3 separate regions of the Homo sapiens genome follow, and regions 1 and 2 are each linked to region 3. Evidence: promoter capture Hi-C in 16 types of primary human blood cells and fetal thymus (Javierre and others, 2016). All regions are on one chromosome and are shown on one strand. The core of a region is centred on a gene start or on the middle of the fragment in contact, and the rest is flanking DNA. Distances in the headings are between cores, read along the strand shown.

Region 1 (4,362 bases), core at 1,709-4,208, 210 kb before region 3:
ATAATATATAAATAAACTTTTTTTTTCTATATTAAAAATTCACATACTGGACCAACCATGCTGATCCCAGCCTGCCTGCCTGCCTGCCTGCCTGCCAGAACTCACTGGCCAGTGTTGTGACCACTGAAAGGTTATGCCTCACACGGTTCAAATAAAGCAGTGGGCTAGGACAGCAGCACAGTAAACACTGCCTGGGCAAGACATGACGGGGTTCTCTGCCAGCATCAGGTGCTACCACAGCCTCCTTTTCAAGGTGCTGTTGGCAAGTGTCAGGGCATACTTCCTGGTATTCAGTGCATTTACTGCAGGACTTAAGAAGAGCAAGAGATTAATAATATACCAGAATGATATACAAGATGTGTGTTCAAAATGGAAAATTGCAAGGAATGCCAAAATCTTACAAGTATTGCAATAAGAATGCAATATTTGTGGCAATAAACATCATCAATGTAAAAAATCAAAAGAGGTACACAGAAAGACAGATCCTGCATGTTCTCACTCATATGTGGGAGCTAAAACAGTGGATTTCATGAAAATAGAGAGTGGACTGGTGGTTACCAAAGGCCAGGGAGAGTGGGTGATAGAGAATGAAGTTGATTAATGGGTACAAATACATGGTTTGATAGAAGAAATAAGACCTAGCGTTAGACAGATCAGCAGGGTGACTATAGTTTACAACCATCTACTCTACATTTCAAAATAGAGAATTTGAATGGTTCTAAGGTGATGGATATCCCAAGTTCACTGACTTGATCTTTATAAATTATATGAATGTATGAAATTATCACGTATTATACCCCAAACTATGTATGTTTATTATGTATCAATTTTTTTAAAAGGAGAGTATTTTCTTCAAGATCGCTTACAGCCGGGAGGGGTGGCTCACGCCTGTAATCCCAGCACTTTGGAAGGCTGAGGCGGGCAGATCATGAGGTCAGGAGATTGAGACCATCCTGGCTATCATGGTGAAACACTGTCTCTACTAAAAATACAAAAAATTAGCCGGGCATGGTGGCGGGCGCCTGAAGTCCCAGCTACTCAGGAGGCTGAGGCAAGAGAATGGCATAAACCTAGGAGGCGGAGCTTACAGTAAGCCAAGATTGTGCCACTGCACTCCAGCCTGGGCTACACTGCGAGACTCCATCTCAAAAAAAAAAAAAAAAAAAAAAAGATCACTTACTAGGGACCTCAGATCCTCAGATGCCAGTTCTCCTCAGAAAGATCAAAGTAACTAATTATCCAAACAGAAAACTGAGAAAAGACAGCCAGGATATGATGAAGAACCCATGGAAAGAAACTAGAGTGCAGGAAAGAAAAACAACAAGAGTTTGGCAGGGATCGAGTGCTGAGGAACACAAAACCCCATGGAAAGGGTAAGTGGGAGTACTTCTCTGCTGCCCTCACCCCTCTGACCATCTGTTCACCATCCAACTGATGGGGAGTCCCTCTGCCCTCATGATGCAGGACAACACTAACAGTGGCAGTTTGAGAACGTCCCAGGGACAAGGATGTGGGTGGCCAGCTCACACAGGCATGCCCGCCCTCCTTTCAGGCCTGAACTGAGACAGGAGATACCACTGCCCTGCCCAGGAAATCTCTGCTCTTGAGTCACCACCGCACCACCAGATCCCTAACATATTCACAACTGCTGTGACATTAGCAAGTTTAGGAGACCAGTGGGTCCCCAGAGAAGGTGTGAGACCCATGGAGATGTAACCGTTAATTTAGGCTGCCCCTAGGGGAAGGGGGGACAGTAGCCTGCCAAAGCCCCACCTTGAGACAAAGGTAATGCAAGCAAGCAACAATCGCTGAAGTGGGCAGCCCCAGCGGCTGGAAATGAACATGAAGAGGGGATCATTTCCCGCCCACCCCATCCACTGTTGTGAACACAGGAGAGGTTCTCCCTGCTGGGAGCTGGCAGACGTGTCCTTGGGGAAAGCACTTTTCATGCTTTTTGTGGTGGCTCCATCACAGCTAAAAGTGAGCCTGGCCGGGCGCGGTGGCTCACACCTGTAATCCCAGCACTTTGGGAGGCCGAGGCAGGCAGATCACAAGGTCAGGAGATCGAGACCATCCTGGCTAACACGGTGAAACCCCGTCTCTACTAAAAATACAAAACATTACCGGGGTGAGGTGGCGGGCGCCTGTAGTCCCACCTACTCGGGAGGCTGAGGCAAGAGAATGGCATGAACCCCGGGGGGCGGAGCCTGCAGTGAGCCAAGATCGCGCCACTGCATTCCAGCCTGGGCAACAGGGAGACTCCGTCTCAAAAAAAAAAAAAAAAAAAAGTGAGCCCATGGCCAGGCACGGTGGCTCACGCCTATAATCCCAGGCACTTTGGGAGGCCAAGGCGGGTGGATCACCTGAGGTTGAGAGTTTGAAACCAGCCTGACCAACATGGTGAAACCCCGTCTCTACTAAAAATACAAAATTAGCCAGGCGTGGTGGCGCGTGCCTGTAATCCCAGCTACTCGGGAGGCTGAGGCAGGAGAATCGCTTGAATCCAGGAGGCAGAGATTGCAGTGAGCCGAGATCGCACCATTGCACTCCAGCCTGGGTAACAAGTGCAAAACTCTGTCTCAAAAAAAAAAAAAAAAAAAGTGACCCCATGCCAACTGGGCTTGCAGGAAGGGCAAGGCCCAATTCCCCCTCCCTACAGAGAAGCATCCGGGCAACAGAAGGTGGACAAGCTGCAAAGCTGTTTACTCTGTACTAGAGGAAGAAGTTCCGCCCTGAGCCCATTTTGGTGGCAGCTGCCCGTTTTGGTGGAAGTGTACTCTGGTCAGAGCCTAATGGACAAAGTCTACATGAACTGATGGTTGTGAGCCCTCTGACCGGGGCGTGATAAGGAAGCTTCTGTCTGCTCAGGATGAGCAACTGGTGCACCCCATCCCAAAAAGGATCAAATAATCTATAAAGTAAATATTATCAGACTAACAACAGACTTCTCAGAAGAAACCTTACCAACAAAAAGAGATTTGGGGCCTGTTTTTACCCTTTTTAATGACAAATAAAAACAAAAACAAAAAAACTACTAGCCAAGAATTTTACAGCCTGCCAAACTAAGCTTCATAATTGAAGGAAAAAATAGTATTTCTCAGACAAGAAAATGCTAAAGAAATTTGTCACCACCCGACCAGCTCTACAAGAAATGCTCAAAGGAGTTCTAAACACGGAAACAAAAGGATGATACCTGCTAACCATAAAGATACACGTAAGTACAAAGTTCAAAGATCCTATAAGGCAGTTATACAATTGGGACTACAAAGCAACTAACAACATTATGACAAATACAAAACCTCACTTATCAATATTAACTTTGAACAAAAATAGCTTAATTGTTCTACTCAAAAGACAAGATCCAAGCATATGCTATCTACAAGAGACCTATCTTCTGTGTAACGAGATCCACAGGCTCAAAGTCAAGGGGTGGAGAAAGATCAATCACGCAAATGGAAAACAAAAAAGAGCAGGGGTTGTTATTCTTGTTATCAAATAAAATGGACTTTAAACCAACAACATAAAAAAAAAGACAAAGAAGGGAATTATATAATGATAAAGAGTTCAATTCAACAAGAAGATTTAACTAGCCTAAACATATACACACTCAATACCAGAGCATCCAAATTTATAAAACAAATACTACTAGACTGAAGACAAGACAAGCAGCCATACAGTAATACTGGGGGACTTCAACACCCCACTGACAACACTAGACAGATCATCGAGGAAGAAAACTAACAAAGAAACTCTGGAATTAAATCGGACTTTTGACCAAATGGACCTAATAGACGTCTACAGAAGATTCCAACTGACAACTACAGGATATACATTTTTCTTATCTGTGCATGGAACATTCTCTGAAGTTGACCATATACTGGGTCACAAAGCAAGTCTCAAAAAATTTTAAAAAGTCAAAATCATATCAAGGATCTTCTCAGACCACAGTGGAATAAAATTAGAAATCAATACCAGGAGGAACGCTCAAAACCATACGAGTACATGGAAACTAAGCAACTTGGTATTGAATGACTTTAGGGTAAACAATGAAATTAAGGCAGAAATTTAAAAAAATTTTGAAACAAATGAACACAGAAACACAACATATCAATACCTCTTGGATACAGCAAAAGCAGTGTTAAGAGGAAAGTTTACAGCACTAAATGCTTATATCAAAAAGACAGATCTCAAATTAATAATGTCACATCTAGAGGAAACAGAAACAAGAACAAACCAAGCCCAAGCTGGCAAAAGAAAAGAAATAAAGATCAGAGCAGATCTTTATTCTTTAAATGAAATTGAGACCAAAGAAATCATACAAAGAATCAACAAAATAAAGTTATTTGAAAACACAAACAAAAT
Region 2 (4,181 bases), core at 362-2,861, 170 kb before region 3:
TCTCTACATGTTCTTTCTTTGGAATTGAAATAGCAACCATGTTTTCCTACTAAAGTTTTCTGGCCATGTTCAGTGGCTCACGCCTGTAATCCCAGCACTTTGGGAGGCCGAGGCAGGCTGATCACTTGAGCCCAGGAGTTCGAGACCAGCCTGGGCAACATGAGAAAACCTCATCTCTACAAAAAATGCAAAATTAACCGGGCATGGTAGCCCACACCTGTAGTCCCCGCTACTCGGGAGGCTGAGGTAGGAGGATCGCTTGAGCCCAGGAGGCAGAGGTTGCAGTAAGCCAAGAGAGAGCCACTGAACTCCAGCATGGGTGACATAATGAGACCCTGCCTCAAAACAAAACAAAACAAAAACATGCAGAATGTACTGTTTTACCTGGTAAGGAAGGGTAATATGGTCTTCCTTCCTTTTAAAATAAGATGCAGCCCAAAATATACCATTCAAAGACTATGCTTGGATTTAACACATAATGCTGTAAGAGTAAACAGGATAATGGATGATAAAATAGATAACAAAAGTTGAAAAAAATAGATACATTAGACCTTCCTCATTTTAGAAAAATTAGACATGTCAATTGGGAAAAATACAAAACAGTACCTAAGTGGGGAAAAAAAGACAACAGAAACGAAGTAGGTGAGAAAAATCTAGAAAACTGAAACCATCACAAGAAATCCCTGTATATAACAGACTTTCAACTCCATCAATGTGTCTTTCCAATTACTGTACCAAGGAATAGCAGCTTTAAATGACCGATCTGAAGAAAACACGGCACTGTTAAGCTTATGAGGTAAATATCTAACATCTATTTCTTTAACAGAATGAATGAAAAGTATGCTGACTCACATTAATGGTGAAAATTAGAAGCATACATCTGAATATATAAGAATTAATACCTTATTAAAATGGATAAAATCACTTTTCTATGATCTCCAAAGAGTATTATTCTGTTTAATGAAATTTTACTAAAATTAACGTAGTACTTCATCGTATCTCATTCTCAGTCTTCATGGCCAACATAAAAATAAAGCTGAAAGGAGGTGCCTTTCAGTAAAAGGGAAAGAAGCTAAAAAAAAAAAAAACTGTTTTCTTCTGGTGTGTAGTTTAATCCTACTTAAGCCCAGGAGTTCGAGACCACTCTGGGCAACTTAGTGAGACCCTATCTCTAGTTCTAAAAATAATAAGGCCGGGTGTGGTGGCTCATGCCTGTAATCCCAGCACTTTGGGAGGCCAAGGCAGGAGGATCACCTGAGGTCAGGAGTTCAAGACAAGCCTGGCCAACATGGCAAAACTCTGCCTCTACTAAAAAAATACAAAAATTAGCCAGGCGTGGTGGCTCATGCCTATAATCCCAGCACTTTAGGAGGCTGAGGTGGGTGGATCACCTGATGTCAGGAGTTTGAGACCAGCCTGGCCAACGTGGTGAAACCTCATCTCTACTAAAAATACAAAAAATTAGCCAGGCGTGGTGGCGGGTGCCTGTAATCCCAGCTACTTGGGAGGCTGAGGCAGGAGAATTGCTTGAACTTGGGAGGCAGAGGTTGCAGTGAGCCGAGGTCGCGCCATTGCACTCCAGCCTGGGCAACAAGAGCAAGAATCCGTCTCAAAAAAAAAAATACAAAAATTAGTTGGGCGTCGTGGTGGGCGCCTGTAATCCTAGCTACTTGGGAGGCTGAGGTAGGGAGAACTGCTTGAACTAGGAGGCAGAGGTTGCAGTGAGCCAAGATCGCGCTAGTGCACTCCAGCCTGGGCGAAAGAGCAAGACTCCATCCCTCCCCACCGAAAAAAAAAAAAAAATGGCCAGGAGTGGTGGCTCACACCTGTAATCCCAGCACTTTGGGAGGCCAAGGCAGGTGGATCACTTGAGTCCAGGAGTTCAAGACCAGCCTGGCCAACATCATGAAACTCTGTCTCCACTAAATATACAACTAATAATACTAATTTTTTTAAATCTGCCTGAAGCAGGAGAATCGCTTGAACCCGGGACGTGGAGGTTGCAGTGAGCCAAGATCGCACCACTGCACTCCAGCCTGGGCAACAACAGCGAAACTCCGTCTCAAAAAAAAAAAAAAAAAAAAAAAAATCCGCCTGAAGAGTTAAGCTATAGTAATTGCCTCCACCTGCTTTTAAATGCAAATAGCAATCAATCCTCCCGTATGAGGAGATGTTGGCAGGGATCTGAGAATGCAAGTAATATAATTAGATAAAACAATTTCCCACAACCAAATCATAACTATGTTCCTATAAATGATCTGCCAAACCACTTTAATAGAAAAAAAAGGCCCAGGACACAGCCAGAGAGCAGATTTCAGAATCCTTCTCTGGATAAACTAAATGGCCTCAAAGAAAAAAACTATAAGTAATAAAAATTGGGCAACCCTTAAACCTATTCTTAGCCTTACCACCCAATAAAGAAGTCTACTAACTGATAAGCTTTCTTATACTCAGTCAGGGTTTTAATGCCTCAATTTGAAATAGAAAATAATGCCTGGTCTAACCAAAGATTTGAGGTAAGTGTCCAACATGAAAAAAATCAAAACAAATAAAAATAATACGAATGAAAAAAAAAGGCACAGGATAGAAGAAAACTTAAAAAAACAGCCAACAACAATTTATTACTATCTTCAGAGTTAAGACACTATAACATAAAACCTTAATAGCATGTCACAATAAAGGAAAATCTAGAGAAGAAAATAGCTCCAAAAAAACCCCAAAAAGACACCAAACATTAAAACTTCAATAGAAGGATCAGAAGATAAAGTCAAGGATATTCACACCCAGAAAAATAAAAAGACAGAGATAGACAATTTTAGAAAAAAAGAACATTAGAGGATCAACTCAGGAAGTTCTACATCCAACTAACAGTAGTTTCAGAAAGAACAGAGAGAACAATAAGGGAGAAATTAACAAAGAAAGAATACAAGACAGTTTCTCAGGGCTAAAAAGTGCATAACCAGACTGTCAAAAGAAGCTACTCAGTAAAATAAGTGAAAAAGGAGTTATAAACCCCAACGTGAAATTTCAAAATAGCAGGGATGAAGACCTTCAAAAACTTCTAACAGCTGGAGGGCTGGGGGTAATACATATAATGGCTTCTAGCTTTTTTAAGAGCAATGCTTGAAGCTAAAAGAAAGTGGATCAATTCTGAGGGAAATGATTTATAACTAACAATGTACACAGTCAAACCATCAATCAAGTATATAAAATAAGAACATTTTCCAACATTCATTCCTCAAAAATTTTATTTTCCATGCACCCTTTCTCAGGAAGCTACTAGAGATGTCCTTCACCATACTAAGGAAATACACACAAAATATATATAAATGAAATACTACAGAGAAGTGAAGGGAAGGAAATCCTCAGGATGACAGCTGTGGAGTGGGCCTCGGACAGCAACCAGTCCGACATAAAATTGAACACCATTTCCCAGCTTTTATTTCATTATATTCTCTGTGTTTTACAGCTTTTTTCTAATCAATCCTTTCCCCCGATTAAAGTATTTTTTAAAATAACACCACAATTGTATTGTGTATCTATTTATGCATGGAGACCCTTTGGAGAGCCACAGACCACTGTAATAGCTAAGATTTTTTTGTCCCCCAAGGACCAATTTTTACCACATAGGAATATCATCCTTAATGAGAATATATGCAGTAACAATAGAGATTTCTTGAAGGAGCCATTGATAAATGGGTTATTTGACAAATTAATCTCTCGAGTAGAAAATACAGTTGAAGAAGTCTGAGAAACTAGCAACAGACACAAAGAACTGAGCAAGATGTTTTGTTTTGGTTTTTTTTTTTTTGAGACAGAGTTTCGCTCTTGTTGTCCAAGCTGGAGTGCAACGGTGGGATCTCGGCTTACTGCAACCTCCGCCTCAAGCAGCTGGGATTACAGGAGTGTGCCACCACGCCCAGCTGATTTTCTGTATTTTTAGTAGAAACAGGGTTTCACCATTTTAGTCAGGCTGGTCTTGAACTCCTGACCTCAGGTGATTCAGCCTCCCAAAGTGCTGGGATTACAGGCGTGAGCCACCACAAGATGTTTTTAAAAAGACAATTACTAACTCCTGAAAACACAAAATACTGTATCAGAAAGCCCAATAATTGGCTAAGCAGTGAAGAAGTGAATGACATTTAGTCATATTATAAGCAGTGAATATTAACCAAAAACTA
Region 3 (4,224 bases), core at 427-2,926:
ATCATTCCACTGCACCCCAGCCTGGGTGACAGAGTGAGATTCTGTCTCAAAAGAAAAAAGAAAAAAAGTGAGTTTTCTTCTCTGGGCTGTTAAAAATTTGAACTCAAAGAACCATTTTATAAGTGAATGTGAAAAGCACCTGAACTACTGCTATTAGCTGCCCCTCTCGTCACGTGCTCTTCCTCCTTCCAGGAAATCTGAAGCTAGTATTAGCTTTCTTGTCTTGCTTCCACTGCGCTTGCTGCTAAGGAGGAAAAGCAACAAAAATACAAAATATAGTTTGGTAGAGGGAATTAGCTATTCATTGGACAAATTATTATTATTCTAGGAATCAATGCTTTTGAGATGTACATTAAAACCCATTTCCTCCATAAAGTTTTCTGTTAACTCTATATATTTCTAATCATTCCATTTCCTATCCTCATTATAGCCATCGTTTAATGCAAAATTTAATACTTTGGCAAATACCATTTTTTCTCTCTCATTCTGATAGATATGTAATAATGTAAACAGGTTGAGAGCAAAGTTCATGACATCTGCATAACACCTAACAATGCCAATGTCAACATAGACAATAAATGGCAGAATTGATTTAAATAGTCCCTTAAATGGCTTCTGTTTATTCATTTAGACCATGGGGGAGGGTTTTAACAAAGGATGGTAATAAAACCTTTCTTTTCTCTGAAGCTAATTGTAGATGCTGTATAATGTTCCAGATTTTCCTTAGCTTCTTTCACGTCATTGTGGATCCCATCTTATCGATTTATCCTTTTTTTGTTCTTCTTTTTTTTTGAGAGTCTCACTCTGTCGCCAGGGCTGGAGTGCAGCGGCGCGATCGCGGCTCACTGCAACCTCTGCCTCCCGGGTACAAGCGATTCTCGTGCCTCAGCCTCCCGAGTACCTGGGATTACAGGCTCCCACCACCATGTCCGGTTAATTTTTGTATTTTTAGTAGAGATGGGATTTCATCACGTTGGCCAGGCTGGTCTTGAACTCCTGACCTCAAGTGATCCAACCGCCTTCGCTTACCAAAGGGCTGGGATTACAGGTGTGAGCCACCGCGCCCGGCCTTTTTTCTTTCTTTTTTTTTTTTTTTTTTGAGACGGAATCTCACTCTGTTACGCAGGTTGGACCATCTTATAGATTATCAATTGTACAGATAATTGCACTCCGGCCTGGGAGACAGAGTGAGTACCTGTCTCAAAAAATAAAATAAAATAAAATAAAATTAAAAAAAACACTTAAATTAGTGAATAACCTTGGTGAAAAGCCACGTCCATGCTTCTACGGCATTTCTCTTCAAAGCTAAAAAAAAAAAGAAAAAATCAAAAATCAACCCAAAGGTGTAGTAGAAGACTGCATCTGCGACCGTATTTAAGCATCGGTCATGCTGTTAAAGGAGAAAGTGGACATCCTCTCAAGGAAACTTTAATCCTGCCCCCAAAGGATTAAAATCCCGTAACAAATATTTGTTTATAACACATCTTGACAAGATCAAAACATTCTGGTAGGGCAAATAGTAAAGACTAAATCTTGAACATTGACGAAAACTTCCTGAAAGGCCCAATGTATTTGACAGGAGAGGTAACTGGGGTCCCGGGCCTAGCGAGGCGGGGCGGGGAGGCGCAGGTGTCACCGCGGGCGCCCAGCTGCTTACGTCACAACCCGCGGAAGGCGCCGTGCGCCGGTTGCTATACAGGCCGCACTTCACACCCCGTGCCTCCCCGCCTCTCCTGGCTCCTCCGCCCAGATCCCCGGCGCTCCCGCGTTCGGTGACGGCCGGGTAGGCTGTAGGCAGCGCAATGCCAAGACAGAGCTGCTGGCGGCGGCGGGCGAATCTCCCTGCACCATGAGCCTCGGCTCCGGCCCCGTTAGGGGCCGATAAGCACAGCGCACGCCGCCCTCCATTTGCCCCGGGGCCTCGGCTGCGAAGATAGCGGCGGCCGGACAGGAAGCTCGAGGAAAGCGCTGGGCCGGGTCTCTACGAACACGTGAAGGAAAAGCAGCTCCGTCCACAACGCCGCTTCGGGGCTCCTAGGTGAGAGTCTCCCCGGCGGAAGCGTGGAGGGGCCGGGGTGCCGGGAAGCGGGGCGGGGAGGAAGCCGCGGACACGGGCTGGGCACTCGGGGCTCGGGGTCGGGGTGAGTAGAGGCGGAAAAGCAGTGAAAAGGGAGGCCTTGGGCGAAGACGGGGGCTGAGGGCGGGGCGCGAGCCCGCGCCTGGAGCCCGGTGAGGGCGTGGCCTAGAGCGTGAGGCCGCGTCCTGGGGCGGGGTGAGGGGCGAGCGGGGCGGGCCCACGGCATGCTGCGAGCCCAGCCTCCCGCCAAGCACCGTCCCCCATCCAGCCCCCTGTGGGAGGAGCCGTGGGAGGGGTCGCCTCTTGCCCGGCGCGTGCGGCAGTAGCGTCTCTGCGTTCGGCCCCGCCCTACCCAGGGCCCCGCCCCCTTCCTGGCGCGCGCTGTATCCTGATGCGATCCCCCTCCCCCCTCCGGGTTCATGTAGGGAGTCGGGCCCCGGGCCGCCACCGTCACCTCGGCCGCTGCCGCTGTCGCCATCGCCTTGTTTCCCCATCCCCCGCCATGGCCGAGGACCTCTCTGCGGCCACGTCCTACACCGAAGATGATTTCTACTGCCCCGTCTGTCAGGAGGTGCTCAAAACGCCCGTGCGGACCACGGCCTGTCAGCACGTGTGAGTAGACGCCCCCTCCCCCTCGCGGAGCCGGGTTGTCGCTTAGGCCCGGCCTCCGGCCCGGGACCCCGGGCTGCCGCCTGGCGGGAACCGAGCCCGCCGCGGCCTGCCCGAGCGTCGCTGCCCCGCGAGGTCCCGTTCCCCGCCCCTCAGAGTCCCGGGGCGGCCTTTTCCTCAGCCTCGGGGCCCGCTCCCCGCGTCCAGCCCCCTCAGCCCAAGCTCCCGCTCTCCCGCTCTCCCGCTCTCCCGCTCTCCCGCTCTCCCTGGCTTTCGCGCCCCCGGGGCAGTGGCCAGGCCGTTCCCTGCGGCGTCTTCAGGCCCCGGAGGCCCCTGTCGTCTCCGCCAGGCCCGGGAGGAATTGCAGGGATCTTGGAGCCTTTTTGTTTCTTAGCAACCCGGGTGAAGGCTGGGGTGTCGAGTGTCAAAAGCGGCCGGCGGTGCTCGCGCGGGCCCGCTCGCCCCGCGACCTGCCCTGCTTTCAAGTTTCCTCTTTCAGAACCTTGGTCCGTCCCCTCGGTCCAAGAGCTCTTCTGTAACTTCCCCTCAACCCTGCTTCACAGAACACCCTCGAGAGCGTTTTGTTTCGTTTCCAGTCCACTATGTGTTAGAGGGATCTAGAATGAGTTTTCTTCTCTGGTCTCTTAAAACTGACAGGATTTTCGGGCATTGAAATGAGCGTTCCCCTTTGTTTTACCTTTCTGCTTACTTATTACTTGATTAATACAAGGGTGGAGAGGAGAAAGGAAGACTTCTGTTATGAGGAATGAGCCGAAATTGAGATGCTACCCAGGGTGGGGGAGAACACAAAGGGGTTGGGTGAGATAACGCATGCGTTTGATTGGCAGGCATATTTACAAGAACTTTGATAAAATTTTATGGACAGCTAGGGTGTGAGTAAGGGTTGGAAAGAGCCCTTGTTGAGAAGGTGTATAGCCCTTCTGACAGACCTGACTGATGATCAGAGTCCCCGGGGAACTTTTTAAGTAAACATACCAATTCCCAGGCTCCATTTCAAACTTAACAAAAGAATGTTCGGGCAGGTGGGGCCTGGAAATCTTTATTTATTTATTTATTGTATTTTTTTTTAGTAGAGACGGGGTTTCACCGTGTTAGCAAGGATGGTCTCGATCTCCTGACCTCGTGATCCTCCCGCCTCGGCCTCCCAAAGTGCTGGGATTAAAGGCGTGAGCCACCGCGCCCCGCCCGGAAATCTTTATTTTTAAAAAACACACTCAGGCTTGAAAGTTACGTGTGTTTGCAAACAACTGAAAAGAATTGACCAACCTTCTAAATGTATTTCATTCTCCTTCGACTTTTTTTTCTTTTTTTTTTGAGGTGAGGTTCTATAATTTTGTAAAGGATGGATTGAATTTTTGGTTCTTAATTGCAAATGCCCTTACTGTGGCTGTTTTCTTGATACCAACTCTTCTCATTTTTTCCCCAATCTTAACTGCACTGTCTACTTTATTTCTATTTTGTGCTGGTTGTGTGAGCCAAGAGTGTGTGGATTTTCATGATAGAAATTATGCCAGTTA

What was found. Contacts are between HindIII fragments. The CHiCAGO score rates a contact against its expected background, and 5 or more counts as called.
Region 1: a contact is called between a fragment that was not itself captured here and the fragment with the promoter of RNF138 in region 3, in 12 of 17 cell types (total CD8 T cells, total CD4 T cells, naive CD8 T cells and 9 more). The highest score is 13.5, in total CD8 T cells.
Region 2: a contact is called between a fragment that was not itself captured here and the fragment with the promoter of RNF138 in region 3, in 16 of 17 cell types (total CD4 T cells, total CD8 T cells, non-activated CD4 T cells and 13 more). The highest score is 19.6, in total CD4 T cells.

Annotation. Positions count from the first base shown.
Region 1 is chr18:31,875,343-31,879,704 of GRCh38, forward strand. The region is part of intron 12 of TRAPPC8 (trafficking protein particle complex subunit 8); the gene reads right to left. Among named protein-coding and RNA genes, the nearest start is that of TRAPPC8, 66 kb to the right of the region's middle. The HindIII fragment of the contact is 214 bases long and covers 2,852-3,065 here.
Region 2 is chr18:31,922,675-31,926,855 of GRCh38, forward strand. All of the region lies in intron 2 of TRAPPC8 (trafficking protein particle complex subunit 8), which reads right to left. Among named protein-coding and RNA genes, the nearest start is that of TRAPPC8, 18 kb to the right of the region's middle. The HindIII fragment of the contact is 1,651 bases long and covers 787-2,437 here.
Region 3 is chr18:32,090,198-32,094,421 of GRCh38, forward strand. It overlaps RNF138 (ring finger protein 138), which reads left to right and starts at 1,677. Exons shown (of 8, transcript NM_016271.5): 1 at 1,677-2,038; 2 at 2,503-2,689. The coding sequence starts at 2,580. It overlaps LOC124904278 (a long non-coding RNA gene), which reads right to left and starts at 1,748. Exons shown (of 2, transcript XR_007066327.1): 1 at 1,658-1,748; 2 at 1,078-1,305. It also overlaps a transcript of RNF125 not described here. RefSeq lists an enhancer at 1,376-1,425 and a silencer at 2,096-2,515. The HindIII fragment of the contact is 10,157 bases long and covers 1-4,224 here.